Regions from separate parts of the Homo sapiens genome. Here region 1 is linked to region 2. Evidence: promoter capture Hi-C in 16 types of primary human blood cells and fetal thymus (Javierre and others, 2016). All regions are on one chromosome and are shown on one strand. The core of a region is centred on a gene start or on the middle of the fragment in contact, and the rest is flanking DNA. Distances in the headings are between cores, read along the strand shown.

Region 1 (2,767 bases), core at 268-2,767, 1.6 Mb after region 2:
TACCATGTAACTGTGGTTTTTCCATTTTTATTCTTTGCTGCATCTGTTGCTTTTCTGGGATTTGAACATTTTGCTGAAAATATTATATACTGCTTAAGGAATAAGGAATAACACCTGTGTATATGTTATGGTTATTGTGGGGTTTCTCGTCTTTTTTTAACTCTGTGACAGTGAGCGTTTTTGTATATGGTCAGAAAGTTGACTAAAAGTAAATACCCTTACAGCTTTATTCACGTTGAGGATTTAATTTTATTTTACAAAACACTATTTTGAGTGTTTTTCAAAATTCATGAAAGTGAGAAGAGACCAAAAAGAGTTATGTCAATTTTTATCTTTTATTCTCTTGGAACTTACTTTTTGGTTACAACAAATAACTAGAAGTTTCCTCCTCTATCTTTGCCACTGTGCCTTTTTCCATTAGGACTAATCTGGAACTACATAGATCAAATTTAAACTTGCAGGGAGGGTATACTTAAGCTCATTGCTATAGGTTGTTTCTAGGCCAGGGATTAACAAATTTTTTCTGCTGGATTTGGCCTATTGACCTATTTGCCAACCCCTGCTCTAAGCCACAAAGGAAGAATTCTCATGAAAATTATTACATTGAGACTAAAGTTATGAGTCTGCATAATATATAATCTTTTAAATTATAAGAACTTGCTTCTTTCTAATCAACTCATATTGTGACTTGATTTTTTTAAGTATAGCTTAATTTCTAATAGAAACCAGAAGTAGAAATTTCAGTAGACATAAAAAATGACAGGCCTTCTAAATTCATGTTGTTATAAAACCAGAAGGTTAACATGTATGTTAAATATATACGACTAACACCCTGAATTTGGAAGTTAGTCTAATGTAGCAGAAAAATATGTTCTGTGTTTCTCCATTGTTATTCATAACTCCATAATGGGTAAGAGATAGTTAATTGGAGCATGTTGTTAGCAATGGTCTTCTGGGACAAGGAGCTAAGATAGCCTCTTCCTGTTTTCATGTAATGCTGGACTGTGCCTGGTTAGAGAAGGAAGAATTCTGGGGCATTTGCCACAGTCTACAAGGAGGAAAGTTACAAACGTAACCCTTCAGTTTCCTGCCAAAACTTTTTCTGTCTTCACTAAGAAGTTGGTCAAATGTATCTCTAGGTAGCATTCCTTGAAATAAGAAGAAAGGCAGAGGCTGGGTGCAGTGGCTCACGCCTGTAATCCCAGCACTTTGGGAGGCCAACATGGGCGGATCACCTGAGGTCAGGAGTTCTAGACCAGCCTGGCCAACAAGGTGAAACCCCGTCTCTACTGAAAATACAAACAAAATTACCCGGGCGTGGTGGTGGGCGTTTGTAGTCCCAGTTACTCAGCAGGCTGAGGCAGGAGAATTGCTTGAACCCGGGAGGCGGAGGTTGCAGTGAGCTGAGATCGCGCCACTGCACTCCAGCCTGGGTGACAGAGTGAGACCCTGCCACAAAAAAAAAAAAAAAGGAAGGCTGAGGCTGACCATTCCTACCCTTTAGAAAATATTAAAAATACATTTTATAGCCCAGGTTTCCAGGGACATCATCCGAGATTAGAACTGTCTACTTGGACATGACAGTGCTGTACCTGAATACCTGAAACATGTTAAAATCCTGTATTGGTATCTGGTAGGAACTTGTGCCCTAACTAAGTCTATGTTTTTCAAACTTTCTTGACCATGTCTCACAGTAGGAAATACATTTTTCGTTGTCAGCCAGTACACAGGCACATATATATACGGTAACATTCCATCTGGATGCACCAGCACAGCCATGCTCCTTAAAATACTGAAAAACCCTCATATCATGTGGTAAATAGCCACTTCCCTTTCCTCACCAACTAGTTAGTCCTCCTGCCTGATCCCTTTCAGAAACCTCCAGAACTAAAGCCAGCTTTGAGTTAAGATTGTTAAATATTTTGAATATCATCACTGTTGAAGACAAACATATATATTTGTATATATAAATATGTGTTTCATAATTTACCCTTAGTATGTATGATAGAGTCTCCTGTTTTCTATTCGATTTCACTTTTTAAAAATATTTTTTAGAACTCAGTTAATTTAAGGAGTCCCTACCACGGTTTGAAAAAATGCCACCCTAGTAATATTCTGTAAACATGGCCTGACAACATGAGGGTATTAAGGTATAAAATCCCTGGCTGCACAGGACTGGTAGACAAGGTGGAAGAGGACCTTATCAAGAAAGGAGGGGTGGGGGTACTGGAAAACATTGCCTCCTCTCCAAAATACACATAGATGCATCTAATTCATAGGGTTGGTATAGGAATATTAAAAAAAAAATAGTGAAATGACATAAAATTTGTATAGATCCTTTGAAAGCTATAAAATACTATATAAATAAAAGGTATTATTAAATAAAAGTAATAAAATGAGGGGTGGCTATTGCTATAAGGGAGAAGGGAACATTGGTTGACTACTGATCTATTAAGTTGTAATAAGAAAGTTTATTGAGATGTAGTTGGGAACTCTGTAATATGTTTCTGTCTTAAATATTTGATTAAATGACAGTCTTTTAGACTACTCCATTTTGAAAAGGTTCAAATATAAAATTGTTCTTAATGTGCATTTTTATTATTAAAGGTATTTGTAAAAATTGTCATTTGAAAGTTTAGGTATATGCTTATTTGGAGAATACTGAATATTTTTTTTTTTTTACCTTTCAGCACATTTGTGTGTCCAACTGAAATTATCGCTTTTGGCGACAGACTTGAAGAATTCAGATCTATAAATACTGAAGTGG
Region 2 (2,843 bases), core at 128-2,627:
TTTTCACTGTGAAGGGCCAGGAAATGTCGATGTTGGAGCTGCAACATTGAACATGGTTCCTGACTTTGTGGAACTCATGGTCTAAGATGTGTTCTAGAGTGAGGTCCAAAAACTCTTGGGAGAATCCCATACTAGGGGCCAAAGTCCTGCTAGGGTGTGTTATGGAATAACAGCAACAAAATAATGTCAACAGCCAATGAGCACAGGATAACTACAACACACCATGATGTCATAACTTGGACAAAGGCTTGTGACCCCCTGACTTTGGCGCAACATGAAATGAGCAGAAAGTAAGGTATATTATGGAATAAGCCCCAAAACTTGAGAGAATCCCATGCTAAGGGCTTAAGCCCTGACCAAGACAAGCCAGACAGGACCATGAATGTGTGGCCATGTTATACTGAGCTCATCAGCACCTGCTGAGCTCCTGTGTCACCTCTAAAGCCATGCGCACAAGTTTTGCATTGAGATAATTGCTCTACTGGTTTCTAGATATAGTTGAATTCTCCACCCCCACTCCCACTGCCCTATGACCTCCAGCAAAACAAAAGCAGGTAGGTAGTAATTGTGTTGTGAGTTAACGATATCTATATCTTTGGATAATAAAATCTATATCATTTCAGTGGTAGCATTGGAATATCAGTTGCCCTTCCCCATGAAGAAAGCACATTGTTATCGTTTAAATCATTATCATAATCAAAAATATCAAAGACCCAGTCATTCATCAGTCTTTCCAGTGAAGTCAACTGCCTTTGTTTTTTGTTTGTTTATTTTTGAGACAGGGTCTCTCTCTCTGTCACCCAGGTTAGAGTGCAGTGGCGCGATCTGGCTCACTGCAACCTCCACCTCCCAGGCTCAAGCGATTCTCCCACCTCTGCCTCCTGAGTAGCTGGGAATACAGGTGCTCACCAACATGCCCGGCTAATTTTTGTGTTTTTAGTACAAACAAGGTTTCGCCTTGTTGGCCAGGCTGGTCTCGAACTCCTGGCCTCAAGCGAGCCCCCTGCCTCAGCCTCCCAAAGTGCTGGGATTACAGGCGTGGGCCACTACGCCCGGCCTGAAACCAATTGCCTTTGAATTCATCCTGGGGAATCTGCTGAAGTGGACAGTTTATGTAAACACAAAAACATCCTAATGAATGGCTGCCTCAGTAGGAGTGGCAGACAAAACACATGGTGCACTTTTCATCAAAAACACACAAGGAAAAAATTTTTCATCATATCTTTTGTAGTTGCTAATAAACTTAATTCACGCACTTGTGTTTTTTTGTGGGTTTTTTTTTTTGTACACTTCTTAGTACCACAAAGAGGAAGTGCTTTTTCTCCTTCCTTTAAGAAAAAGTTCCAGTTCAAACCATCAGCCTCTGTAGGTTGTCTTAATTGCTACTTTGCACTGCACTGGACTATGACTGATTTTTGGCACATGCTATCATACACAAAGTTCCTGAAATAAAATGCTCCAGGATATCCTAGGAACTCTTAGAAGGCTTTAAAAAGGGACTCACACACTGAAAGAATATCTTTGATGAAGACAATTCAGGCAAGCAGAATGATTCTTGCAACAGAATTACATGATTAATTGAGATCTTGAAGTGGGTCCGGTGAATCCTGGCCACCTAACTTATCATGATTTGGGGGAGTTTCACGAGAATCCAGTTTTGATAAAACAATTGTTTTTTTCCTCCCCAAGTGACTATACATTTAAATAGCTAAAACATCTGTTCAGCAACATAGTAAAACATATATACTCGGAACGCTTGAGAGAAGAGCCTGCCAAACAGGGACTTTGCTGAGGGAGAGCACCAAGATAAAGCAACACTGTTTGTTTTGTCTAGTCAGGGGGAAAGCCAAGGCAACCAATATTTTGGTTTTTATAATTTTCATTTGTGAAGAATTATTTGAGAAAGGGTGGCGAGGGGAGATTTCCTGACGGCAGTTTCTTAAGCTGTCCATTAGTAGAAGAGCAAGAAAGCCTTGGATGTCAACGCCTCGCTCTTGAGACCAGCCACCAAACCACGAAAAGTGACTTTCTTCTCGTGTGCTCTCTACGGCCCTTCTGATGGAAGCAGAAACAGGGAGCAGCGTGGAGACTGGAAAGAAGGCCAACAGAGGCACTCGAATTGCCCTGGTCGTGTTTGTCGGTGGCACCCTAGTTCTGGGCACGATCCTCTTTCTAGGTAAGTGGAGTGCAGGAGGCCGGGGGAACTGGGTGTGTGTCGAGAAGTTTCCTTGTGCTTTATTGTAGCAAAACTTGTCATAACACAGGTATAGGGCTGTTTGCCTGCGTTCATAGGTGGTGTATCTTTAGTTTCTATCAAATATGCAAATGATAAAGAAGGCTTTTTTAAGGAGCCTAAATAAATAAATACACCCAAGTACCAAATGTATAGTCCAGAAGGCAAAGTGGGTGTAAGTGGCTTCGAGTGGCTGGCTGATTCTGTTGCATTGGGTGGAAAATTTTTTATGTGGTACATTTAGCAAAATGAGTGTTTGTGAATTCATAGTCACATAGTTTCATTTATATTTTGAGGAAAGACTTTACATTGTGATGAAAACCATGCTGGAGTGTCTTTCCATTTGACTTTTATTAATGTTTGCTTGAACGAATCATGAAATTTAATTCACAAAACACAAATCAGTCCTTTAAAGTGTGCTTTTAATGATATTCTTCAATTCCTTTCTTATCCAGTGACTCTGGTGAGATGCAATTTGATTTACAAATTAATATGAAGGAAAACAGAGGTTTTCCCCCAAGATTTGAAAGATATTGTGATTCAGTTATTTTAATGACTGTTGGTGAGAATGATGTACCCAGAGAGTATATAGGATGATAGAAGTGTATTC

The links. The method cuts DNA at HindIII sites, captures the fragments that hold promoters and counts their contacts. A CHiCAGO score of 5 or more calls a contact.
Region 1: a fragment that was not itself captured here is called in contact with the fragment with the promoter of PHEX in region 2 in 1 of 17 cell types (neutrophils); the score reaches 6.3 in neutrophils.

What each region holds. Positions count from the first base shown.
Region 1 is chrX:23,672,300-23,675,066 of GRCh38, forward strand. It overlaps PRDX4 (peroxiredoxin 4), which reads left to right. Exons shown (of 7, transcript NM_006406.2): 3 at 2,691-2,767. Among named protein-coding and RNA genes, the nearest start is that of PRDX4, 6.2 kb to the left of the region's middle. The HindIII fragment of the contact is 4,829 bases long and covers 1-2,767 here.
Region 2 is chrX:22,030,948-22,033,790 of GRCh38, forward strand. PHEX (phosphate regulating endopeptidase X-linked) reads left to right here and starts at 1,378. Exons shown (of 22, transcript NM_000444.6): 1 at 1,378-2,176. The coding sequence starts at 2,059. The HindIII fragment of the contact is 6,886 bases long and covers 1-2,843 here.